Regions from separate parts of the Homo sapiens genome. Here regions 2, 3, 4, 5, 6 and 7 are each linked to region 1. Evidence: promoter capture Hi-C in human tissues and cell types (Jung and others, 2019). All regions are on one chromosome and are shown on one strand. Each heading gives the region's core, a stretch centred on a gene start or on the middle of the fragment in contact. The rest is flanking DNA. Distances are from core to core; before and after follow the strand shown.

Region 1 (3,725 bases), core at 797-3,296:
GACTGGTGAGGAAAAGTATCACACTTTTTCTCCCCTACACATGTATATCACTGTACACAATTTTTTTTTTTGAGACAGAGTCACTCTCATCATCCAGGCCTGAATGCAGTGGCACGATCACAGCTCACTGCAGTCCTGACTTCCCTGGCTCAATTCATACTCCCACCTCAGCCTCGCAAGTAGCTAGGACTACAGACACATGCCACCACGCCCAGCTAATTTTTGTATTTTCAGTAGAGATGGGGTTTCACCATGTTGCCTAGGCTTGTCTTGAATGCCTGGGCTCAAGTGATCCACCTGCCTTGGCCCCCCAGTACTGGGATTATAGGCCTGAGCCTCTGCACACAGCCAAAATAGAATTTTTAAAGGAAGAGGAGAAATATGAAAAGGATTTCTATTTTTTTTCTTTTTGTATTCCAGTGGATTATCTCGCCCCCCCGCGAGCTGTGTGTACACCCAGGATGGGCCTCAGTTCCCTGACTATGGGTGAGTCCACGCTCTGCCTGGAACAGGAGCTTGGCTGGTCTTTTCCTAAGGACTTCCTTGGATACAGACCGGACAGTCCCTCTCCATCATTCTCCACTCTGTTTCCGGCTAGGCCCACCAATCTTCTTGCGTAGCGCCCAATACTGTTTGTCTGGGTGGAAATCCATCTCCGCCCAGCCTTTCATGGAGATAGAGGAAAACTGATCGGCATTCTTCCTCCATAAACTTGACAGCACTTGACTCCGTTTGGAAGATTGTGGAAGCGAGTCTTTGCTGTGTTTATGAGACCCCCGGGGTTGTTGCGAAGATCAAGTGATAAAGAGGATGAAGAATTTTGCGATACACAAAGGGCTCCAGAAATGTCGAGTGATATTATTAGCAGTGATTTGCATTCATGAAGGGAAGAATGGACGGAAATTAAATGGAACACTTTGGACACGTGTAAGGAAACTGCTGTCGGTCTAGCTCACTCCCCAGGCCGGGGAGCCTTCCTGGGAGGACCCATTTTCCTACACAGCTGCCCACAGCCCCTCTCCATTTCCACCTCCCTCTAGGTAGGAAGGGAACTCAGGTTGGGCAAAGGCGGTGAATTCGCATCTCCAGGAAGCGGCGGGGCCGGAAGGCAGCCAGCAGGGGGCGGCATTGCGCAGGACAGGAGAAGGTAGCGGCCAAGTTCCTCATGAAATCCACGTGCGTGAGGCTGGGAAGGTCCTCTAAGATGTTTAAATAACCCTTAAAGCGGAATCAAGATTTGTTTTTTTCTGCAGTTAGAGAGTTTGCTCCCTCCCAGCCGGCTCGCTGAGCGCTGTGGAACCCTTCGGCTGGGCTCCCCTGAAATCGGGCGCTTGTTCTGGGACAGGCGCAGAAGGGACCCCGGGAATCACGCTTGCGCTCGGGATGTGCAGGGTTCCAAGGGTGACACAGGGGAACTTTTCTATGCAAGGGCTAGCTGCTAGTGCAGGTCTCAGACTTACCTTCCGTTCATTTCAAGACAAATTGAGCTCAAATTACCCTTTTCTTTTTCGTTAAATGAATGGGGAATGAATGAATGAGATTTTCTGTTTTGAAGATGAGGCTCATCTCCCCTCCCCTCGCCTCCCCTGCCCTCCCCTACCCCTGCCCTCCCCTACCCCTGCCCTCCCCTCCCCTCCCTTCCCTTCCCCTGATCCCAAAGTTGATTCCCGGTTGCAGGAACACAGCGTAGAAAATTCGATGCATTCTCTCAGGAAGGAGCCTGGAGTGGGACTCAGGGGACCTGGGTGCTGGTCTCAGCCCCACGCCAGTCGTGGACAGGCTTCTGTTCCTTGGGCTTCTCGTCTGTAGAATGACGGTTGGAGAGAGGATTTTTCTCCTTCTCTTCTACAAGGATGTGCTGTGACAGCCAGGGAAGGGCTGGCCATGCACAGTGCTTTCATGCATGGGCTCTGACTGTCACCAAAGAGCCAGACCCGGCCACAGGCCATCCTGGAAGAGGGGAGAGCCCTTTAATGTGGGCAGAGGGAATGTTGGCCCGCCAGAGTTCCCTCTCAGGTGTGGTGGGAGTGGCAGTTGAATGGGGCAGTTGGAGAGGAGGACTTCAGGCGGGTGGGACAAGAGAAACTGAATCTGAGGTCCTTGGGGAGAAGCAGGCCCTGGAGTCCTGGGCAGCAGATGCCAGGCTCTGAGCCCCATGACTGCTGACCCTCCTCCCCTCCCTCTCATCCTCAGCCCAGGTAAAGCTTCATTTCCAGCCCAGGTAAAGCTTCTCCCTGTAACAATTAGTGGCCACCATTTAGTCCCAAGGGCCTTTGTTTCTCATCCTCAGGACAGGCTGTGTGTGTGTGTGGTGGGGGGTTTGGGGGAGGTGACACCACTGAATGGGGCTGCCCAAGTGGGAGGCAGCAGGGACGAGGCTCCCAGAAGAAAGGCAGCCCCTCTTCCACTTTTGGAGCCCCCGCTATCATAAAAGAAAAGGCAGAAATGCCAAGACGCGATTTCAAAATCTCTGAAATACAAAAGCCTACATTGAATATTTTAAGTCTTTTCCCACACATGCACAAACACAAACACATATACAGGGTAGTGTTCACAATTTAATTATGGGATTTATACCTCCCCCCCAAAAAAAAAGACCTGGAAAGCTTTACTGCAGTTCTCATATGAGGTTTTCATCTTTCTTTCTTTTTTTTTTTTTTTTAACTTTTAAATATATTATTTTCCTGGGAGGGTAGATTTGAATTGCTCTGAATCCAGGCTCTGCATCCTTCTTTGATCGTGTCGGAATGTGTCTGTAACTGGATGGATGACCTCTTTTGGAGATGCCATCACTGGCCACTGTTTTAGGCCTTCTGGGAGATGAGGGTACTTGAGCAAAAGCACCCCCACTTCCCTTCCCACACCCCCAGCTTGGTGCTGTCCCCTGCATGCACTTCCCTCTGCCACCTCTCTGCCTCTCCCTGCCTCCCAACCCCAGTCCCTCATCACTCACAGGGCTTTCTGATCTGGCTGCCACAGGTGCCTGGGACCTGGGGACAGACAGGAGAGGTGCGGTGCAGGCAGGGCCTGGGAGAGCTCCCCAGTGTCTCCTCTGTGCTGGAGGCCAGTCAGGCCCTGGAGGAAGGGGCTGTGGGAGTTGGGGGAGACCATCAGATATTGATAACTTTGGTGGCTTTAAATTAACAATGGATTTATTAAGAAAGAAGTAGGGCTGTAGTCTCATACCTGGGAAAAATTTTATGACTAAAGGTGTGCCTGCTTTTGGTTGATGGAGGAACTCCCATCATGAGCACCAAGGAAGACCCAGAGTCCAGTTCTCAAACATAAAGTTGTTAATTTTCTGGGCTAGACAGGGGCAGAAATGAAATATAACAGAGCAAAGTGGGCAGGTGTGGAAAATGGTTCTTCTTGAGATGACTTCTAGACATCTTTTGTTCTCTCTTGGGGCAGAGACAAGGATAGAGAAAAAGGCCTCAGGAAACACTATAAGGAAGACAGCAGTGCCAATGCAATAATAAATGTTACATGACCCCAAATCTCAGAGTCACAGAGACAGTAAGGAGTGGTGGGGATTGTGGCAAACTAAAGCATGTATACCCTGCCCAGGAGGGGCTGCCGTGCTCAACGTAAGTGGATTGTCACCACATGAACATACAGAGCTCTTGATATTTGACGAAAGCCAGAAGCCAGTCTTATTTTTTTTTTAATGTGGTATCTCCTCATTTTTAAATGTTTTCCACAAATTGGAAAAAAATGTTTAAACT
Region 2 (3,725 bases), core at 890-3,389, 930 kb after region 1:
ACAGTATCTTTTTTTCTTGACAGTATGTCCTGGAACCTAACAGAGGGGCTGGTGCTTAATAATTTGTCATTTGGGCTGGGCGCGGTGGCTCACGCCTGTAATCCCAACACTTTGGGAGGCTGAGGCGGGCAGATCACGAGGTCAGGAGATTAAGACCATCCTGGCTAACACGGTGAAACCCCATCTCTACTAAAAATACAAAAAATTAGCCGGACATGGTGTCGGGCGCCTGTAGTCCCAGCTACTCGGGAGGCTGAGGCAGGAGAATGGCGTGAACCCGGGAGGCGGAGCTTACAGTGAGCCGAGATCGCGCCACTGCACTCCAGCCTGGGCGACAGAGCGAGACTCCGTCTCAAAAATAATAATAATAACAATTTGTCAGTTGACCTCTGCAGCACTAAACATAATCCCTTCCTCCACAGCCATTCTCATTGCTTTTCCTCTTGACTGAAAATCAGCGTGCCAGCTGTGCTGTGGGTCACACCTGCCTCCTCTCCAGGAACCTTATGGGCCTTGTTCCACTGTTTATTTGGCCTATGCATCTGGCCTCCACTTGTCTGCTGGTGTCTTTCCTTCAGCAGTTAAGGATGCCTAAGTCTCTTATCTGTACATGTATACATATGTACCTTCTGAAACCCACATCCCCTCCAGCTACTACCCATCTCTCTTTTCTTTTCTCAGCCAAACTCGAGTTGCCTGCATTTGGATCTCTCAAATTCCTCACCTCAGTATCCTTAACCCACTGTTATCGTCTAGCCTTTGAGCTTATGCCGCTGCAGCTGCATGTGATACTGCCAACACTTACCGAAACACTCCCTTTTCTCGGCTGCCTTCCTGCTCTTTCTTCCCAGCTCTCCTCCTACCTCTCTGTCCATTCTTCCGGGTTTCTTTATGAACTTCTCTTCTGCCTATCTTTCAAATGTTGGTGATTTTCAGGTTCCATCCTAGGTTCTCTTCTCACTATATATACAATAGTCCCCCCTTATCCACAAAGACGCATTCCAAGATCCCCAGTGGATGCCTGCAACCTCGGATAGTACTGAACCCTATGCACCTTCTTTTTCCTACACGTACGTACCTATGATAAAGCTTAGTTCAGAAATTAGGCACAGTAAGAGATTAATAACAACAATAACTGATAATAAAATAGAACAGTTATAACAATATACTGTAATAAAAGTTATGTGAATATTTATCTCTCAAAATACATTATGGTATTGTACAATGAGTAACTGAAACCACAGGACATGAAACCGCACATGAGCGGCGACTACTCTAAACTCTTTAAGTGATCTCAACCACTTTCCTGAACATCAGACCTTTGTATCTAAGTCCCTTACAAGGAAGGACCCTGAAATGTAATGTTCCCCACCCCCCAAAACCCAGTCCTCTTCCCACGTTCCCTGGCTCACTTTTTCCTTTCCCTTGTCTCCCAAATCTACTAGATTATCATTCTTTCCCCACAACTGTCCCTTCTCTCTGTCCTGTTACTTTATTTCAGGACTTTTTTTTTTTTTTGCCTGACTGCAGCAGTTATCTAAGCTATCCTTCAAAAACATACAACAGTGATCTTTCTAAAACACAAACCTTCAGTGGCTACCCTTTACCCTTGAGAGATGATCTAAATCTAGCTTCCTGAGATAGAGCCCTGGTTTACCCCTTCAGCCTTATCTCTTGCAGTTTTTCCTCAGGCCCTCCCACAACTCTATAATCAGATCTCTGAACCACTATGTTCTGTCACCTCTGTCACCTCCTGTTCCTGCACCTGCCTCTGTAACAAAGCCTTCTCTTCTTCACCTTCTCCTAGTTTGCTCTGTGTGACCTTCAGGTTGGCACTCAGACAATATTTCCTCCGAGAAAGCATTCCCTGGCTTCCGTTTGACATAGAGTTGGATGCACCTTCTGTTGTTTCTTAGCACCCTATGCCTAGTCCTACTACTGTCACTTATTATAGTTTAAAGTGGGTGAGTATCTGTGTTAAGTCCCTTCAGGATTGTGTCTTATTGATTATTCAGTCTTTACTCCCCAGCACAGTGCCTGACACATAGTTACATGACAAATATTTGAGGTATGAATAAATGAGCTTTCTCTAGAATTTGGTTTGCTTTTTAATGGGCCGTCATTGATAAGTTTACCATCACATCTCTCACCCCAATAGCATATTCACTGTTAAGTATGAAAACTTGAAAAATAAATTACAAGCTATTTACAAGAGAAATGCATTCTGGAAAAGCTCTGATGCAAAGGAAAAACATTCCCTATTAATGCTCACAGAAATACCTCCTAATGAAACACAATTGTTTCCATTGTTACAACAATTAATTTTTAATATATGCAACAGAACAAGGTGACTTAACTTTTTAATCTTTTCAATCAGAAGGGGTCTCAGGCTTTTACCTATTCTATTTAGGAACATTCTGACAAAGTACAGGACAAGTACATTTATCTTCGGGTCAGATGCCATGGCTTACACCTGTAATCCCAGCACTTTGGGAGGCTGAGGCAGAAGACTGCCTGAGCCCAGGAGTTCGAGACTTGTCTGACTAGCCTGGGCAACATAGTGAGATCCTGTCTCTACAGAATAAAAATGTTTTACATTAGCTGCATGTGGTGGCACACGCCTGTAATCCCGGGTACTCAGGAGGCTGAGGTGGGAGGATCGCCTGAGCACAAGTCAAGGCCGTAGTGAGCTGTGATCGCGCCACTGGGCTCCAGCCTGGGCAACAGGGTGAGACCTTGTCTAAAAAACAAACAAACAAAAAAAAAACCTTCTTATCTTTATTTTGGTGAAGTGAATGATCTTACTTGGTACTGTTTTACCATGCTTTAAAATATAGCAGGCATTACTTCAACCACTATTTATTGATTATAACTGATTTATTTGACATTCCTTAAAATATTACTCACTCCTTAATTCTGTTTGCCTTTCTTTTATCACACCTGACAGTGGTGATATCATGCTTCGTGTACCAAAGATAGAAAAACGATGATATGGATATTTTCTGCATTTAATATACCTTTTTACAGTCCTTTACTTACCTTAGTCAGAGGGAAAATATCTTGCAGTTTTCATTGGAAAATAACCAAAATTAAAGGAAATAATGTTTTATTTAATGTCTTAAAGAGCAAGAAACAATAAAAAATGTCAATATTAAACTAAATTGGGCATTACAGCTAACGTTAATGAAGATAAAGACAAATGCCAGTGAGTGTTCACTTAAAAAATAAACAGGATTTTTAAAAATTACCCTTGAGAAAAGTTAAGTCCACTCTATAAGTCAGCTATTTTTCTAATATTTTAGAATCATGAATTTCTATCATATAATAGCTATTGATTATACCTAATACAGTATCTTTTATATGTTTTTCCATTTTTATTTCATCATCCAGAGCCAATGATTTGAAGTATTATTTGCGCTCCACTATAGGAGCCCAAGACCTTGAAACAAACCCTAGGTAATCAAATAATTGACACTAATATAGAAACCACCATTTGGCTTACTAAAAAAGTCTCTAAAGAAAACAGAGGTATTCCAACCCCAATTTTATAAGACAATAGGCACACAAGAGATCAGGTTAGTTAGAAAGAATCTATATGATACAACACCTAAACTGCATTACATCAGTGTGACACATCCTAGAATGAGAAAAAGGGTGCCAATGATAGTCTTTTTTTACTGATAGTATGAAAAATTGAACCATCACTAATATGTCTAAATTTAACT
Region 3 (3,725 bases), core at 606-3,105, 880 kb after region 1:
AACAGAGTAGAATAACAGATTCATACATGTCAGGTACATGTGGAAATTTAGCAAAAGATTTATGAACATGAACCCAAGCAGAGGAAACTATTAAAAATAACAGACATGTGATATGTAAAATTCACCAGATAAAATCCCTGGTTGTGTTAGCCACACTTTCAAAATTCTATTGTTCATAAGTCTTAGAAATTCCTTCCCTCCCCTTCTTCCCATAGTGAACAGAGTTTGAATTATATTTCAATTCTTTACATACTACAGAGTTTGAAATAGAATTCTAAAGAGTGAAGGAACAATCATGGACTTTCTGAAAGGCTTTTTCATTATGGCTATGGTATTTAAGCAGACTTACTCAGATTTTGTTCCACAAAACATCTATTGGACTAATGGCCTTTCCCACTGTAGTTCATCTCTCTACGTCTTCAACAGCTTGTTAGCAGACGTAACAAGCTGTTACGTCTATATAAGGATATATAGAAGTGAGAGTTTATTAGTGGTATTTTCTACAAATTTTCATTATCATAGGTATTCTATTGTTTGGCAGTTTTAAAGCTACCATTATAATAAGAAGAGAGAATTTCATCTCATAGCATGTGAAGCTTAAATCTTCAATTGGGTCACTTGGGGTCACCTAAGGCCAACAGTAACCTGAAAAGGAAAAAAGTTTTCAGTTTTTTTTACTAGAAGGGCTAATTGTGTTACATCTGTTCTTTCTTTCAGCCCAAGTTTTAGTTAATTGTCTAAGTGTTCTGTTCTCTGCTTAGCAAAGGATTTAATAGCTGATTTTATATACATTCCTGGTTTAATCTTACTTTAATACACTTTCATTGATAGGATAAATGCACCTTCTTAAGGTGGGCAATTCTGTTAACTCAGCATGGTCAAACTTTTCTCAAGATGATAAGATTGAATCTTACATTTGGTTAGTTCTTTTTTTTTCTTTTTATGAGATGGAGTCCCTCTGTCCCCCAGGCTGGAGTGCAATGGCGTAATCTTGGCTGACCACAACCTCCACCTCCCAGGTTCAAGCGATTCTCCTGCCTCAGCCTCCCGAGTAGTTGGGATTACAGGCACCCACCACCACACCCAGCTAATTTTTGTATTTTTAGTAGAGATGGGGTTTCACCATGTTGGTCAAGCTAGTGTTGAACTCCTGACCTCAAGCAGTCCACCTACCTCGGTCTCCCAAAGTGCTGGGAATACAGGCGTGAGCCACCACGCCCAGCCGATTAATTCTTGTATCTCATAGTTATTAAAGTACATGGATTTCTTACCTTTTATGAGCTAATGAATATTTTGTAGTAACCCTGGAGGAGGAGTTTGCAGTGAGCCAAGATCACACCACTGCACTCCAGCCTGGGCAACAGAGTGAGACTCCATCTCTAAATAAATAAATAAATAAATAAATAAACAAACAAACTAATAGATTCTTTTGAATATAGGTAAATTAAAACATGACAAAATATTTTCTACTCACCTATTTGACAGAAACTTTTCAGCAGTCACAGTGTTATATTCCATTAGGTTTCCCTTTCAGTTGGCCTCCCTCTACAAAAGATGCTCGCTTCCTTTTTTCATTCAGGTAACATGTGCTGTCTCCCCCACTGAGTCACATATCCTAGACACTGACTGGGGATAAATGGATTGCATTTGCCCAGAGATAAAGTGAACTTTATTGTGAATATCAATTAATTGCCTTTGACTATTTCTTGTTGTCAGTAGCATATGTTGCAAAACACTTCAATAATATTTAGTATTTCTAAGTGAAAGTTTTATATCAGCTTAGCTAAGCATTCTGCACTTACCGATAGTAGGCAGCATGGGTTTCAGAGCATCATTTTTTTAATGTTTAATTTTTAGAGGATTCCTAATGGACTTATTTGTGTTTCTTCTTAATTTGTTTTTCTTCTCCATGTAGAACTGGCTTTCCTAAGGTTTATACAGTAAGACAGACGTATCCCCACATTGAAGCTCTTTCCATTTGAGTCTAGGCTGATAATGAAATTGGGGAATTAAGGAAGAGAGTTAAAGACAGTCTGGAAGAGGAGAACTCACTGAATATAGAAATGACTAAAATGGACATGAGCTCTAAGGACAGCCAAGGAGAAAAATCAGACTTTAAGTTAAATGATCCATAAGCTACCTCTCTTAATGAGAAGTAAGACAGTTGCTTACAGCACATTAACCACCTAGAATAACCCAGACCTCATCAAGTGGTAGTGTATTGAGTAACACCACCAATTTTATAGCCTTTGAAGATAAATTAAAACCAGCCTCAAAAAAATTGCATACTAGATATACAAATATTGGCATATTCAGAGAAGCAACATTTAATATGTACATTTTACACATTATGTCACTTAAACATTTACCATGGGTTTTTTAAATAGGTTGAAATGTTCTGCAGTTAACTTTTGTATTAACCACTTTGTTGAGATATAATTCACACACCATACAATTCACCCATTTATTCTATACAATTTAGTGGCTTTTAAAAGTGTATTCAGGCTGGGCGCAATGGCTCACGCCCGTAATCCCAGCACTTTGGGAGGCCGAGGCAGGCAGATCACTTGAAGTCAGGAGTTCGAGACCAGCCTGGCCAACATGGTGAAACCCCATCTCTACTAAAAATGCAAAAATTAGCTGGGCGTGGTGGCGCGTGCCTGTAATCCCAGCTACTCAGGAGGCTGAGGCAGGAGAATCACTTCTACCTGGGAGGCAGAGATTGCGGTGAACCGAGATCACACTACTGTACTCCAGCCTGGGCAACAGAGCTGGACTTCAATTAAAAAAAAATGTATTCATATTGTTGTGCATCCATCATCACAAGCAATTTTAGGACATTTTATTACCCTAAAAAGAAGCCCCATTCACCTTAGCTGTTACTCTCCAATTCCCCTACGACTTCGTCCACTGCCACCAGACCTAGGAAACCACTAATCTTCTTTCTGTCTCTATAGCTTTCTGTCTCTGTAGCTTTCTGTCTCTATAATTGGACCTGTTCTGAACATCTTGTATATGCAGTTATACAATATGTGTTACTTTATGACTGGTTTATTTGACTTGGTATAATGTTTTCAAGATTTTTCTATGTCGTAGTGTGTAGCAGTATTCCTTTCTTTCTGTTGTCAACAGACCATTATATGGTTATACTACATTTCATTATTCATCCTTCAGTTGATGGACATATGGGTTTTTTGCACTTTTTGGCTATTATGAATACTGCTGTGAACATTCATATGCAAGTTTTTATGTAGACATGTTTTCATTTCTCTTGAGATATACCTAGGAGTAGAATATTCTTTAGAGGTGGAACTCTGGTTTTTGTTGTTTGTTTGTTTTTGAGATGGAATCTCGCTCTGTCGCCCAGGCTGGAGTGCAGTGGTGTGATCTCAGTTCACTGCAAGCTCTGCCTCCCGGGTTCACACCATTCTCCTGCCTCAGCCTCCCAAGTAGCTGGGACTACAGGCGCCCACCACCACGCCCAGCTAATTGTTTTGTATTTTTAGTAGAGACGGGGTTTCACCATGTTAGCCAGATGGTCTCAATCTCCTGACCTCGTGATCCACCCGCCTCGGCCTCCCAAAGTGCTGGGATCACAGGCGTGAGCCAGTGCCCCGGCCAGAACTCTGTTTTTAACTGAGGAACCACCAGACTGTATTTCAAAGCAGGTTTGCCATTTTATATTCCCGTCTACATTATACAAGTATTCTCGTTTTTCTATATCC
Region 4 (3,725 bases), core at 335-2,834, 810 kb after region 1:
TACATATGGCTAGCCAGTTTTCCCAGCATCATTTGTTAAATACGGAATCCTTTCCCCATTTCTTTTTTGTCAGGTTTATCAAATATCAGATAGTTGTAGATGTGTGGTATTATTTCTGAGGGGTCTGTTCTGTTCCATTGGTCTCTATCTCTGTTTGGTACCAGTACATGGCTGTTGTGGTTACTGTAGCCTTGTAGTATAGTTTGAAGTCAGGTAGCGTGATGCCTCCACCTTTCTTCTTTTGGCTTAGGATTGACTTGGCAATGCGGGCTCTTTTTTGGTTCCGTATGAACTTTAAAGTAGCTTTTTCCAATTCTCTGAAGAAAGTCACTGGTAGCTTGATGCGGATGGCACTGAATCTATAAATTGCCCGGGGCAGAATGGCAATGTTCACGATATTGATTCTTCCTATCCATGAGCATGGAATGTTCTTCCATTTGTTTGTGTCCTCTTTTATTTCATTGAGCAGTGGTTTGTAGTTCTCCTTGAAGAGGTCCTTCACATCCCTTGTAAGTTGGATTCCTAGGTATTTTATTCTCTTTGAAGCCATTGTGAATGGGAGTTCACTCATGATTTGACTCTCTGTTTGTCTGTTTTTGGTGTATAAGAATGCTTGTGATTTTTGCACATTGATTTTCTATCCTGAGACTTTGCTGAAGTTGCTTATCAGCTTAAGGAGATTTTAGGCTGAGACGATGGGGTTTTCTAGATGTACAATCATGTCATCTGCAAACAGGGACAATTCGACTTCCTCTTTTCCTAATTGAATACCCTTTATTTCCTTCTCCTGCCTAATTGCCCTGGCCAGAACTTCCAACACTATGTTGAATATTAGTGGTGAGAGAGGGCATCCCTGTCTTGTGCCAGTTTTCAAAGGGAATGCTTCCAGTTTTTGTCCATTCAGTATGATATTGGCTGTGGTTTTGTCATAAATAGCTCTTATTATTTTGAGATACATCCCATCAATACCTAGTTTATTGAGAGTTTTTAGCATGAAGCGCTGTTGAATTTTGTCAAAGGCCTTTTCTGCATCTATTGAAATGACGTGGTTTTGTCTTTGGTTCTGTTTATATGCTGGGTTATGTTTATTGATTTGCATATGTTGAACCAGCCTTCCATCCCAGGGATGAAGCCCACTTGATCATGGTGGATAAGCTTTTTGATGTACTGCTGGATTCGGTTTGTCAGTATTTTATTGAGGATTTTTGCATCGATGCTCATCAGGGATATTGGTCTAAAATTATCTTTTTTTGTTGTGGCTCTGCCCGGCTTTGGTGTCAGGATGATGCTGGCCTCATAAAATGAGTTAGGGAGGATTCCCTCTTTTTCTATTGATTGGAATAGTTTCAGAAGGAATGGTACCAGCTCCTCCTTGTACCTCAGGTAGAATTCGGCTGTGAATCCATCTGGTCCTGGACTGTTTTTGGTTGGTAAGCTATTAATTATTGCCTCAATTTCAGAGCCTGTTATTGGTCTATTCAGAGAATCAACTTCTTCCTGGTTTAGTCTTGGGAGGACGTATGTGTCAAGGAATTTATCCATTTCTACTAGAGTTTCTAGTTTATTTGTGTAGAGGTGTTTATAGTATTCTCTGATGGTAGTTTGTATTTCTGTGGGATCGGTGGTGATATCCCCTTTATCATTTTTTATTGCGTCTATTTGATTCTTCTCTCTTTTCTTCTTTATTAGTCTTGCTAGTGGTCTATCAATTTTGTTGATCTTTTCAAAAAACTAGCTCCTGGATTCATTGATTGTTTTGAAGGGTTTTTTTGTCTCTATCTTCTTCAGTTCTGGTCTGATCTTAGTTATTTCTTGCCTTCTGCTAGCTTTTGAATGTGTTTGCTTTGCTTCTCTAGTTCTTTTAATTGTGATATTAGGGTGTCAATTTTAGATCTTTCCTTCTTTCTCTTGTGGGCATTTAGTGCTATAAATTTCCCTCTACACACTGCTTTGAATGTGTCCCAGAGATTCTGGTATGTTGTGTCTTTGTTCTCATTGGTTTCAAAGAACATCTTTATTTCTGCCTTCATTTCGTTATTTACCTACCTAGTAGTCATTCAGGAGCAGGTTGTTCAGTTTCCATGTAGTTGACCAGTTTTGAGTGAGTTTCTTAATCCTGAGTTCTAGTTTGATTGCACTGTGGTCTGAGAGACAGTTTGTTATAATTTCTGTTCTTCTACATTTGCTGAGGAGTGCTTTACTTCCAACTATGTGGTCAGTTTTGGAATAGGTGTGGTGTGGTGCTGAGAAGAATGTATATTCTGTTGATTTGGGGTAGAGAGTTCTGTAGATGTCTGTTAGGTCTGCTTGGTCCAGAGCTGAATTCAATTCCTGGATATCCTTGTTAACTTTCTCTCTCATTGATCTGTTTAACATTGACAGTTGGGTGTTAAAGTCTCCCATTATTATTGTGTGGGAGTCTAAGTCTCTGTGTAGGTCTCTAAGGACTTGCTGTATGAATCTGGGTGCTCCTGTATTGGGTGCATATATATTTAGGATAGTTAGCTCTTCTTGTTGAAGTGATCCCTTTACCATTATGTAATGGTGTTCTTTGTCTCTTTTGATCTTTGTTGGTTTAAAGTCTGTTTTATCAGAGACTAGGATTGCAACCCCTGCCTTTTTTTGTTTTCCATTTGCTTGGTAGATCTTCCTCCATCCCTTTATTTTGAGCCTATGTGTGTCTCTGCACATGAGATGGGTTTCCTGAATACAGCACACTGATGGGTCTGACTCTTTATCCAATTTGCCAGTCCGTGCCTTTTAATTGGAGCATTTAGCCCATTTACATGTAATGTTAATATTGTTATGTGTGAATTTGATCATGTCATTATGATGTTAGCTGGTAACTTTGCTCATTAGTTGATGCAGTTTCTTCCTAGCATCAGTGGTCTTTACAATTTGGCATGTTTTTGCAGTGGCTGGTACCGGTTGTTCCTTTCCATGTTTAGTGCTTCCTTCAGGAGCTCTTTTAGGGCAGGCCTGGTGGTGACAAAATCTCTCAGCATTTGCTTGTCTGTAAAGTATTTTATTTCTCCTTCACTTGTGAAGCTTAGTTTGGCTGGATATGAAATTCTGGGTTAAAAATTCTTTTCTTTAAGAATGTTGAATATTGGCCCCCACTCTCTTCTGGCTTGTAGAGTTTCTGCTGAGAGATCCGCTGTTAGTCTGATGGGCTTCCCTTTGTGGGTAACCCGACCTTTCTCTCTGGCTGTCCTGAACATTTTTTCCTTCATTTCAACTTTGGTGAATCTAACAATTATGTGTCTTGGAGTTGCTGTTCTCAAGGAGTATCTTTGTGGTGTTCTCTGTATTTCCTGAATTTGAATGTTGGCCTGCCTTGCTAGGTTGGGGAAGTTCTCCTGGATAATATCCTGTAGAGTGTTTTCCAACCTGGTTCCATTCTCCCTATCACTTTCAGGTACACCATTCAGACGTAGATTTGGTCTTTTCACATAGTCCCATATTTCTTGGAGGCTTTATTCATTTCTTTTTATTCTTTTTTCTCTAAACGTCTCTTCTCACTTCATTTTGCTCATTTGATCTTCCATCACTGATACCCTTTCTTCCAGTTAATGGAATCAGCTATTGAAGCTTATGCATTTGTCACGTAGTTCTTGTGCATGGTTTTCAGCTCCATCAGGTCCTTTAAGGACTTCTCTGCATTGGTTATTCTAGTTAGCCATTTGTCTAATCTTTTTTCAAGGTTTTTAACTTCTTTGCGTTGG
Region 5 (3,725 bases), core at 688-3,187, 770 kb after region 1:
TTTTAGCCATTATTTCTTCAAATTTTTCTTTGTCTTCTCTCTCTCTCACTTCTACTAGAGAACTTCCATTACGTATATCTTGGTGTACTTAATTGTGCCCCACATTTCTTTGAGATTCTTTTCATTTTTTCCTTATCCTTTTTTTCTCTCTGTTTTTCAGGCTGCTTAATCTGTCATGAAGTTTGCTAATTCTTCTGGCAGTTCAAAGCTAACGTTGAGCCCCTCAAGTGAATTTTTTATTTCAGTATATTTACTTTCAGTTCCATAATTTCCATTTGGTTTTTTATCATTTCTGTCTATGGATATTTTATATTTGATAAGGCACACTTCACTTCTTTAAGCATAATTTCCTTTTTTTTTTTTAACATATTTGTAGTGGCTGCTTTAAAGTTTTTGTCTGTGAAATTTACATCTGGTCCCTCTCACAGCACTGTCTGTTGCCAGGTTTTTGGTTTTCTGTTTTCTTGTATATGGATTATACTTTCCTGTTTCTTTATGGGTCTCATAATTTTTTATTGGACATTTAGGTAATTGTTATGGTCATTCCACAGAAAAAGTATGCACAGTCTTCCCTCCGAAATTTGGCTCAAAAGCCAAGAAGGTATGAGAAGGTTTATCAATCACATAAAGAGGCTTTGTGGGAACCGCAAGGCAGGCCTTCCAAACTGGTCTGAAAATGATTTGAGAGATCAAGGACAGGAGACTGCCTTGGAAGGTTATTTGTGTGCTGTTTGGAGGTGGGGCCTGGGTGAGGTTCCTATGCATGAGTAGGGCTTGAGGGGCATGAACCTCCCACCAGCACCAAAGGAGGCTGGCTTTTTTACCAGCTTGCCCAGATATAGGGCACAAGAGGAAAAGGGAGGGGTAAGATTTAAAAGCTGTCAACAGACAAATATTAAAAAATGGAGCCAGATTCTTTTCCACAATAATATACTGTAGCAACTTTGGATACTGCCCTCCACTCCCCAAAGCTTGTTATTGTTGTTTGCTTGCTTATTTGTTTAGTGACTGGCTAGACTATTTCAATAAAGATTATTTTCCCTGTAGTGTGAAGCCTTTGATGTTGCTCCTCAGAGGCTACAGCTTTGGAGACGTACCTTGTCATCCTGGTATGACAGTGGTTTTAGCAGGGCTCTCTTTGTCTCCTTCTGGATCACACTCAGCTGTTAGGCTTCAGTAATTGCCAGCTGATTGCTCTATTTTTGACAATACCTTGGGTCATAAATTGCTCCATGGTCTGATATAATTAAGTTTGGATTCCTTTGCAGGTTTGTTCTGTAGGTTGGTGTTGTAGGTTTGTCCAGACTTCAGGAAGGTTATCTGTAGATCTTCATTCCCTAGTTCTCTCTGTTAAGCCCTGGTCTGTGATTTAGTTTGATTCTTTCATGAGGCTGACTGCCTTCTCTCTATTGCTTTCCATCAAACCTCCATTTGTTTTGAATATACCCTTAGGCTTGAACTTCCCCACACTCTGTTTTAAATATTAGGGGACAGCTTTGTAGCTGCCTGTTACAGCCTGACGCTTCTCCTGGGCAGAATCCCTGAGCATGGCTCCAGAGGTGAGAGTGAGGACAGTGACACACTTTCCCCCTGAGAGGCATCCCTGCTTTAGGATCAGAACACTGCATTGGAGTGGTAGCTTCTGATCTTTGCTTCCCTTTCCGGCATTGAACCAAAGGCCTACAAAAGGGGTGGTGTGTGAGTCGCTAGGCCCCTGCCATTCTTAGTGTGCTGCACGAGAGATGGATCCTCCACCTTTGTGAGTAGGGGCTGGATTGAAGAAGGGGTGTCCCCAGCCTCTTGACCTCACACTCTTGGAATTTAGCCTCTACAGCATATAGCAGGAGGAGATGAGAAATGGTGGCCTGCCCCGCAAGAAGTTACCACAGTCCTTGACTAGGAGCTGGGTGGAGGGGGAGCCCTGTGTTTTTGGCTGCAGCTTCCTGAAGCAGAGTTTCCTTCACACTGAGCTAGGAGGAGGAGAGAAAGAGCAGGTAGTAGTTCAAAAGTTACAGGCTCTTGCTCTTCTTGTCTGATTTCAGTATATTTTCTTGAATAAATGTTTCTTCGTTTGTTATATGCTCTCAGAACAATTTCCAGAGACTGTAAATTTTTTTTTAATAATTTCCCCCAGTTATGCTTGTTTTACTGGAGAGCAGGTCTGTAGGGATCACACTGTCATTCCAGAAGGGAATTTTTACAATTGGTAGGCATTTGCTGACCTAAAACTCATCAGTCCTAATGCCGGATAACAGATGTTTTTTTGTTTAAGTCAATGGCCTTGAATTTTGCCCACTGTTTTGGCTGTGGCTTTTTTTAGGATGAAGGTTTTATCATGTATGCTCCAAAGGAATATTCTTCCATGTTATAGATTAGTCTGTAAGTTAAATATGATCAATTTACAAAACAGCATTAGAACTGTCCTGTCTAGCTTAACAGCCTTTCCTTGTTTTTAGTGCAGTGTTTTAAGTCTTCAGTTTTAAAAGCTCAAAGTTTTGGTTCTCTTGTAAGGCCCTTTGACATTAAAAAAGAAAGGTTGAAGTCTTCTCATTGAAGTGAGCACTCAGCATGACCTATAACTAGCATTCTGCTATTACAGCAGGCAGAGAAAACTGAGGAAAAAGAAGGTTCATTAGAAGTTCTTAGTCACTGTAAGGTTTACTCTTTGCTGCATTAGAATGATTGAAGATAGGCTTTCAGAGTTAACATTGTTTTTAAAATTATTTCATGTAGCTTTTGAAAGGAAGCCTTAATATTTTTAATATACATTTTATTTTCATGTTTAATCACTATTATACTTGTTTCTGCTTCAAGAGAAATTTTTTGTAGTTTCACATATTAAGTTTAGGGACTACTTTAATCAAATGCCATATGCTGGGGAAATTATTTACTTCTCAGAATTACCAACTTCAGATTGTGTACCACTGGAATGCATATAAGAGCAATTTTTATAATTGTTAAGTGTATTTAGTGTGTATTTTACATTAATAAACTTTGTTTAATTTTTTTGAACTAATTTTATTAGAGGCCATGAGTGTGCCTCATTATTTTAATAAATTACTTTAACCTGAAGTTTCTTAATAATCTGATTATTTGATTTTAACTTATTTCAAACATACAGACCTTTATAAACACAATGTCACGTGTTGGTAATGTTAGCATTTCACTAATGTGAATATAATAACTTCTTAAAACGAATTGCACAGTTTCTGACCAGTGCAAATGTCACTTCCTCAGTGAAGCCCTCCTCAAATTCGTCCAACAAGAGAGTACCTCTGCCAGCTCTGTTCCAATAGTATGTATTCATAATTCTAGCAGAGCCATTACCACATAGTATTTGTCAATTTCCACATCTGCCTCCTCAAGGAAGGAGTAGAGAGAAGTAGTAGAGACAGTAACCTCACCACATTGGCCAGGCTGGTCTCGAACTCCTGACCTCAGGTGATCTCCCCACCTTGACCTCCCAAAGTGCTGGGATTACAGGTGTGAGCCACCATGCCCCGCCATCATTTGTGTTTATCTCTCCAATACCTAGTTGACTGCCACGCAGTCAGAGATATTTAAAAGATGTTTGAATCAGTTGGTGGATATGACGTGGAAAAAAAATTTGATGATCATTCTTTCACATCATTTTATAGGCAAGTAAGTGAAGTCCAGAAAGGTAACATTTTGCTTTACTTTTTCCAAGTTATCAGACTGTATTACTTCAGGCATTTTATCACTAC
Region 6 (3,725 bases), core at 470-2,969, 750 kb after region 1:
CATTTTCGAGAGACTTCATAACATTTAATGACTTCATTACTCTGACACGTTACGTATATGTGTTTGTATTCATATGTTTTAAAAATGTCTTTTAATTTTTAATATGGTAAAAATCAACAGGTATAGATCACATAAACAAAACCTCTCTGAGGTCCTCAATAATTTCTAAACGTATAAAGAGGTCCTAAAACTAAAAGGCTTGCAAACTCCTGCCCTACGCAGTTACCTTTGGCTGACTGGGATCACTGTCCCAAATAATGAGAAAGAATAATCTAATATCTTCAATATAGACATATATCCAGTCAAGATAAGATCTCAGCTGTGACAAGTCACATAAATTAGAACTGTCTCTCTGAGCACCACGCCTGTTTTTGCTTTCTTTTTTTTTGGAAAATAGTTATCATGGTTCTGACTATGGCCCTGAGATAAAGGAATTAGAGTCTGGTCTATTGATGAGATATTAAATATATAGTCCTCAACCCCAGGGACTCTTTACCTTTTTCTTTATTAGATCATTTCTCTACTTCTTGTAAAACTGGAAAGATATCACTTTACATGGCCTTTAGCCTCACCTTTATTGGTCAAGCCAAGCATATGTTTTACTTTTAGAACTTGTAAGCTCACACTCAGAATGCCTGCTTAGGAACTTCTTTGTGCAGAGTGGATGGGACCTGTTGGACATTTAAAAGGGCAAGTGTTATGTCATCGGCCAAGGGAAACATAACCTGAAAATTTCTTTAATATCACACATACTTTTCATTCATTCATTCATCAAATTCAAAATTATTTACTGAGACTTTACTCTTCCAAGCATTGTGCTAGGAACCAAAGACGAAAAAACAAGATCACCAGACTCAAATAATACTAAAGCATAAACCTCAAGGAAGTGGTTATAGCCTGGCATCACTCTATTCATTCTGTATTGAAAATTTTAAACTTGATTTTTAAAGACACTGATTTGCGTTTTAAAATGCAGTGGAATTTCAGCTCCAGATGTACAGTAATACCCTGAGTGTCAGTTGTTTGTAGTATATTTAGTGGAGCTATACAGGAGTCTTATTTTTCTTTCTTTGCACACTCTTGGTGATCTCATGGCTTTAATAAGCACCATCTACTGGGTCATAACCCTGCATACTAATAACATATGTATGTATATGTCCAAGCTAGACGTCCCACTATGCTCCAAAGCCACATAGCAACTGCCTACTAGCCATGTCCACTTTTATGTCCATGTCTGATAGACAGTTCAGACTATTTTTCCCAAAATGAATCCCTGATCTTTCCTCCTAAACCACCTCAACCCTTAAGCTTCCCGTCTCACTAAATGGCAGTCCCGTCCTTCCAATTCTGTCAAAATGTTGAGTTGGCTGGGCGCAGTGGCTCACTTCTGTAATCCCAACACGTTCGGAGGCCAAGGCAGGCGGATCACATGAGACCAGGAGTTCTAGACCAGCCTGGCCAACATGGCAAAACCCTATTTCTACTAAAAATACAAAAAGAAAAATTAGCCAGGCATGTCTGTAATCCCAGTTACTAGGGAGCTGAGGCACGAGAATCACTTGAACCCAGGAGGCAGAGGTTGCAGTGAGCCGAGATCACACCACTGCACTCCAGCCTGAGTGACAGAGGAAGACTCTGTCTCAAAACATAAAAAACATTGGAGTCATCCTTGCTGCCTCTTTCTGTCACACCCAATATCAAGTCTGCAAGGAAATCCTGCTCATTCTTCCTTTGAAATATTTCCACAACTTGTTCACTTCTTACCACCTCCACTGTAACCTCCTGGTTCAAGTCGCCATCATTTCTCACCTGGATTGTTTCAGTTACTGGTTTCCTTGCTTCCACCCTTGTCTCCCATTATCCGTTATAAATGTAAATGACTCTTCCCAAAATCTTCCAGTGGCTTCTTCATTACATTTGGATAAATAGCCAAAGTCCTTAAAACAGCCTACTAGGCCACACTTACTCGGCCCACCATTATCTCCTCGACCTTCCATTCTATTTTCCCGCTTGATGCCTTGAGCTAGCCTGCCAGCCTCCTTATTGTTTCTTAAATACAAGACAAGGTCCAACCTTAGGACTTGGGTTGAATAACTATTTTCTCTGCCTAGAATATTATTCCTGCGGATATCCAGATCACCTCCCTCAAGTTATTTCTCAAAATATACTTTACCTTCTTCACATCTTTATTTAAATGTTATGTTCCTTCTCAGTGAGGGTCGCTATATTCAAAATCACAACTTTCAAACACTCTCCTTTGCCCTTACCCTTCTTTAGTTTTTCTTCAAAGCCCTTTCACCTGCTAAAATACTATATACTTAATGTTTTTATTGCTTCTTCCCATACTAGAATGCAAACTCCATGAGGGCATAGATTGTTTCTTCGGTTCACTGTCATTTCTCCAGTGCCCAGAACAGTGCCTGCCACCAAATAGGGACTTGACAGATACCTGTTGAATAGCCACATTTTGGGGGAGAAAAGAGAACCTTAAGGACAGCTAGCATATTTTTAAGTACTCAAACTGTCCCTAATTGGTAGGCCTTTTTCAGCTAAAGATTTAACAACTAACAAAAGGAGCTCTTGATGAAATTGGCGTTAGTTTGCAGAAGTTCAAACATACACTATTGAATGAGCTTCCTTTTAAAAACCCCAGAAGATTTTCAGAAATACATACAATGCTTAGATACTTTGGCTGTGGGAATTTTATCTAAGCAGACATAGAAAATAACAGACACATTTTTCAAGAATTTTGTTTCTTTTCTAAAAATACAAATTAAATCACTCCAACCTTAAGATATCATAAGGTTATCATATAAATCGCTTCTAAATGCATCATTTGAACTGATTCAAATTCTGCTCTAAAAAATAGTTGATCTTTATCAGCAAAGATGAAGAGACCTGTTTACTAAAAACTGCAGTTGTTTCTGATATTATCATTATGTTCTCTGATAAGGAAGGGGCACCAGAGAGACAAAGTAATGGAAAATGTTTTATTTCAAGTATGCCGTAACTTCTGTATGTGTACACACATATATTCCTGGACTAAACACTTCTGAGAGAAACTTCACAGAAATATTCTGTTGTAGCTATATTACATCTTGCTTATTTCATAATTATAAGTATCTATTATTAGAACCAGGACTTAATCCAGGAAAGTACCCCCCTTATTCATCCCCCCAAAAAGTCAGAGCATCAAACCTGCAACAAACGTTTAGTCTTTATCTGAAATACAGTCATGAATAAATAATGAGAATAATAACTACCATTTGTTGAGCATTTAGATGAGGCTAGCACTGTTCTAAGCACTGTATATGTATTTGCTTTTTCATCCTCACAATCACCTTACAGAGTAAGTTCTGTTATTAACCCCAGTACACATATTGTAAAACTGACATACAGAGGTTCAGCAGCTTCTCCATGGAGCCCAAGGGCCTTTCTGCCTCTAAACTTTCATTTGATATAAAATAAATGTTAACATAAAATTTTTTAACCATTAAATGCACATGTACGTTTTCATTGGCTCTTAAACAAAGAAGGAAAGAAGTTGTGAAAGATATTTTTAAGACAACTGGGAAAATATGGATATATATTGCCCACAAAAATAAAATGTTCTATTCATAAACAGCCTAAAACCTATTTTTAAACTCCCTAGGTGGTCACCTGGTTAAGAATGGACTAGTACATGCTCACTTTAAATACTTAGACATTACAGACATATGGTGGAG
Region 7 (3,725 bases), core at 460-2,959, 710 kb after region 1:
GTGAGCCAAGATCACACCACTGCACTTCAGCCTGGGCGACAGCAGAGTGAAACTCTGTCTCAAAATAAATAAATAAATAAAAATTTAAAAGTTAATTACCTCAGATTTCTTGGTGACTTATACTGCTTTATTTTATGTTCTGATTGGTAGTATTATATTTAAGTGAAATTGTTTGTTTCTAAGTAAATGGTTTTAAGATGTTATCAAAATTTACTCACCTTTTAGTTAAATCTTAATAATTTTTAGATGTATATTTGTAATTCAGAAAGATCATCTTCTTTTGAGAAAAGTATAGTGTTACAGTTTCTGTGCAAAAAAAATTGATAGTAACATTTCCTTTTATTGGAATGTATTAAAACTTTGTTTCCTTGTTTGGGGAGAAACCATTTTGCTTTATTTCATTACTGTTAATACCTGTGTATGTATTAAAACTAGTATAGGCTAGGGGCAGTGACTCATGCCAGTAATCCCAACACTTTGGGAGGATGAGGCAAGAGGATCACCTGAGCCCAGGAGTTCAAGACCAGCCTGGGTAACACAGGGAGACCCCATCTCTACATACAAAGAAAAAGAAAAAATTAATCGAGCATGATGGTGCACTCCTCTGGTCCCAGCTGCTTGGGAGGCTAAGGTGAGAAGATTGTTGATCCAGGAAGGTCCAGGCTGCAGTGAGCCGTGATTGCACCACTGCACTGTAGCCTGGGCAACAGAGTGAGACGCTATCTCAAAAAAAAAAAAAGAAAAAACCAGTATAGTTGAAAAATCCATGTATATAGCAGGCTTTGAGTAAGATTAGTATCTATTACCATTTCAATTTAGGGTGAAATGAATCAGAATCATAATTTCTGAAAATATAGATTAAGTCCTCTTTCATTAGATTCTAGTTGCATTTTTTCAAAGTGTATACACTGTTGAAAATGCCTTACAAATACTTGATTTTTATCAGTCTGGAGGCCTAAGCTCTGAGTTCTAGCTCCTGAGTGAGTTTCACAGTAGTCCTGACTGGAGGTGTGCGTTCAACTGTGGGACGCGTGCTTCTTTTCAGACTGCCTGTTCTTCCACTGTATTTGCCTGTATTAGTAGTCAGTGCTGTCTCTTAGGTGTAGTCTTACTGTTGCACCCCCTAGGAAGGTAGAAACATTGGGACAAAGTATAATAAAACATGACTGAAAGAAATCTTCATGTTTTCTCTTATGTAAGAAATCTTCGTATTTTCTCTTATGTACCTGAGACATTATTGCTGAGAGGTCCTTAAGATTTATCCAGAACTGCACCTTTGAGTTCTCATTGAAGCCCAGAGTGAGTGATTCATGAGGAATTTACCAGGGTGACTTTGTTCTCTAGTGATGCTTTTCCCAGTCTTCTGTGTATCTTGCTGGGGAGGCACACCACGGAATTGTACAGCTTATCTGTCCCTTTGGAGGCTCAGAGTTGGATAGGGAAATAAGAGAACAAAGAGTATCTCAAGCAAGCTTGTTGTTGTTTCATTAAATGTTTATCAAGTAAGTCTGGGGTTGGCACTTAACATCAGTTGCCTCTTTTTTTTTTCTTTCTTACAACAGATAGCTTGTGTGGCTAACAGTGACTTAAGAGTCTAATTCAAAGATTAAGTGACTACCACAGGCTCACAAATACGTAAATAAATGCTAAATCTGGGAATTGAATCTGGATCTTCCAAGTTCTAAAGGCTGTGCTTTTGCCTTCGTTCTTGTACCATCACAGGGGTACAAGGGGTACAAGTCACAGGGGGCCTTTGGTGGTGCTCCTTCATATGGCCTCCACCTCTCTCTCCATGGCTAGCTTGGACTTCATTGTAGCATAATGGGTGCTTTTCAAAAGCATTCCATGAAACATAGGCAGAAACTGCATGTCTCTTAAGATCCAATCCTGGAAGTTAAACAAGTGTCATTTCTTTTATATTCTCTTGGTCAAAATAGGTCATGGGACTAGCTAAGATTAAGTGGAGTTAGTAGATGATAGACTCTACCTCCTGATATAGGCACGGCAAAATTGAATGCAAAAGAGCATGTGAGATGGGAAATAATGTGACCATCTTTGAAAACACAATGTGCTAGCCTGTGTTTGTTTACTTTATCATAAGTAAAGACTTGCAAAGAAATATGGAAATACAGATCATTTTAAGCATGTCAACTTCTAGAATCTCAGGCTTCATAGGTGTTCTTAGCTAAAATTCATGTGCCTGAGAGTGTACCTGTTTTCACTATAACTTTCTCCTTCACATGAGAATGCTGTCTTCCTTACATTTCCTAAATCTTACTAATGGTGATTTGCTGGGATGTGAAAACCCATAGATATCAAACGTGGGGGAAATCTTTTTTTTTTTTTTTTTTTTTTTTTTCTGAGACGGAGTCTCGCTCTCCCAAAGTGCTGGGATTACAGGAAGAGCCACCGCGCCCGGCCTGGGGAATCTCTTATAATTAACTAAGATATCTCAAACTAATAGAACTTCCAGTTTTTCTTTTTTTTTTTTTTTTAATGTACATTTCTCTTAACATGAAGCTTGCATACAAAAGCAGACATCATGGTCCATGTTGATGTATTCTGAATTCGGATGCACTGGAGTGGGGTTGTGGTAGCATGACAGTTTTTGTTTTAATGACTTTGCCATTTCATTACGTGAGTATTGTCAAAAAATCCATTATTGTTGAGAGAGACCCTTGGGAGAGCAAAGAAAAGAGAGCATCTGTAAGAAAAACCAATTTCCAAAAAGCAGATCTTATAACTGTTCTTAGCACTGTATCCCAGGACAGATCATTAATTGGAAAGAAGGTAACTTTCATGCCAAAGTGATTTTGGAAGGTAAAATGATTGTTGCAGATGTGACTGGAATATTCTCTAGGACCATCAAATTCGTAGATAAAGCTTTTGCATAATTTGTTGTATATTTGGTATCTTTTTCTATAATGTAGCATATTTTATAAAATCATATCAAGAAAATTCCATTTAAAGTGAAGCATCTTATTTTATCTTATGAAATTTTATTTTTACTATTTTCTGTATCCTGTTAATGTAATAATACTATCACCTAATATATAAATTTACATGTTGGCTTCTGAGCCAAATAATTTTTTACAGTATATACCTTTTTCTTTTATTAAATTCATAGGAAAAGTTTGTCATGTTTAATAAAATGAGAAAGGCATAGTGTTATTCTTTTTTCAATACACTAAGTACTCCAAAAGCCAGACCCCAGAGTTGACTATGCACATAAATTTACTGAAGAGCTATTACATCTTTTATCATATTTCTTGTAACATAAATTATTTTAGCTGCATTATATTGCATTGCTGTAAGTTAATTAATGAGAAATAGCATGTTGCTTTACAATCTTATTTTTATAACCTATTTTATAAAAGTAGATAAATCAGTTTTATCTGATTTACATTATTGTACTCTTGACTGCTTTTAACAATGTGTCCTACAATATACATTGAGTCATTTCTCAGCAGTTTTTATAATATTCCTTGAAACACATATTAGCACATTTATTTGAATTGAAAATAAAAAACAAGGTCACACTCATTCTCGCAGAAAATGACTTTCATTTGGAAACAGCTTTTATAGGAAGGACTGGCTTTGTGAATTACGTTATATGGCAGATATTTTCTGTAAATTGAATGAACTAGATCAGCAGTTCTAAATTTCTTTTTGTTTTTTCCTTACATTTTATTTTATTTATTTTATTATTATTATACTTTAAGTTT

The links. The method cuts DNA at HindIII sites, captures the fragments that hold promoters and counts their contacts. A contact is called where the count stands out against the background at its distance.
Region 2: a fragment that was not itself captured here is called in contact with the fragment with the promoter of ABCC12 in region 1 in 3 of the 25 tissues and cell types used here (dorsolateral prefrontal cortex, mesendoderm cells and spleen).
Region 3: a contact is called between a fragment that was not itself captured here and the fragment with the promoter of ABCC12 in region 1, in 1 of the 25 tissues and cell types used here (dorsolateral prefrontal cortex).
Region 4: a contact is called between a fragment that was not itself captured here and the fragment with the promoter of ABCC12 in region 1, in 2 of the 25 tissues and cell types used here (dorsolateral prefrontal cortex and mesenchymal stem cells).
Region 5: a contact is called between a fragment that was not itself captured here and the fragment with the promoter of ABCC12 in region 1, in 2 of the 25 tissues and cell types used here (dorsolateral prefrontal cortex and lymphoblastoid cells).
Region 6: a contact is called between a fragment that was not itself captured here and the fragment with the promoter of ABCC12 in region 1, in 4 of the 25 tissues and cell types used here (H1 embryonic stem cells, dorsolateral prefrontal cortex, lymphoblastoid cells and 1 more).
Region 7: a contact is called between a fragment that was not itself captured here and the fragment with the promoter of ABCC12 in region 1, in 3 of the 25 tissues and cell types used here (aorta, dorsolateral prefrontal cortex and mesenchymal stem cells).

Annotation. Positions count from the first base shown.
Region 1 is chr16:48,154,314-48,158,038 of GRCh38, reverse strand. ABCC12 (ATP binding cassette subfamily C member 12) reads left to right here and starts at 2,046. Exons shown (of 31, transcript NM_001393797.1): 1 at 2,046-2,198. RefSeq lists an enhancer at 1-62. The HindIII fragment of the contact is 12,201 bases long and covers 1-2,417 here.
Region 2 is chr16:47,227,396-47,231,120 of GRCh38, reverse strand. The region is part of intron 13 of ITFG1 (integrin alpha FG-GAP repeat containing 1); the gene reads left to right. Among named protein-coding and RNA genes, the nearest start is that of ITFG1-AS2, 44 kb to the left of the region's middle. RefSeq lists a silencer at 496-696. The HindIII fragment of the contact is 6,477 bases long and covers 1-3,725 here.
Region 3 is chr16:47,271,474-47,275,198 of GRCh38, reverse strand. All of the region lies in intron 10 of ITFG1 (integrin alpha FG-GAP repeat containing 1), which reads left to right. ITFG1-AS2 (ITFG1 antisense RNA 2) reads right to left here and starts at 2,227. Exons shown (of 3, transcript XR_007065056.1): 1 at 1-2,227. The HindIII fragment of the contact is 3,754 bases long and covers 1-3,725 here.
Region 4 is chr16:47,348,286-47,352,010 of GRCh38, reverse strand. The region is part of intron 8 of ITFG1 (integrin alpha FG-GAP repeat containing 1); the gene reads left to right. Among named protein-coding and RNA genes, the nearest start is that of ITFG1-AS2, 77 kb to the right of the region's middle. The HindIII fragment of the contact is 3,472 bases long and covers 1-3,320 here.
Region 5 is chr16:47,384,576-47,388,300 of GRCh38, reverse strand. All of the region lies in intron 6 of ITFG1 (integrin alpha FG-GAP repeat containing 1), which reads left to right. Among named protein-coding and RNA genes, the nearest start is that of ITFG1, 75 kb to the left of the region's middle. RefSeq lists an enhancer at 1,223-1,723. The HindIII fragment of the contact is 4,169 bases long and covers 1-3,725 here.
Region 6 is chr16:47,405,287-47,409,011 of GRCh38, reverse strand. All of the region lies in intron 6 of ITFG1 (integrin alpha FG-GAP repeat containing 1), which reads left to right. Among named protein-coding and RNA genes, the nearest start is that of ITFG1, 54 kb to the left of the region's middle. The HindIII fragment of the contact is 8,012 bases long and covers 1-3,725 here.
Region 7 is chr16:47,443,882-47,447,606 of GRCh38, reverse strand. All of the region lies in intron 5 of ITFG1 (integrin alpha FG-GAP repeat containing 1), which reads left to right. Among named protein-coding and RNA genes, the nearest start is that of ITFG1, 15 kb to the left of the region's middle. The HindIII fragment of the contact is 5,602 bases long and covers 1-3,725 here.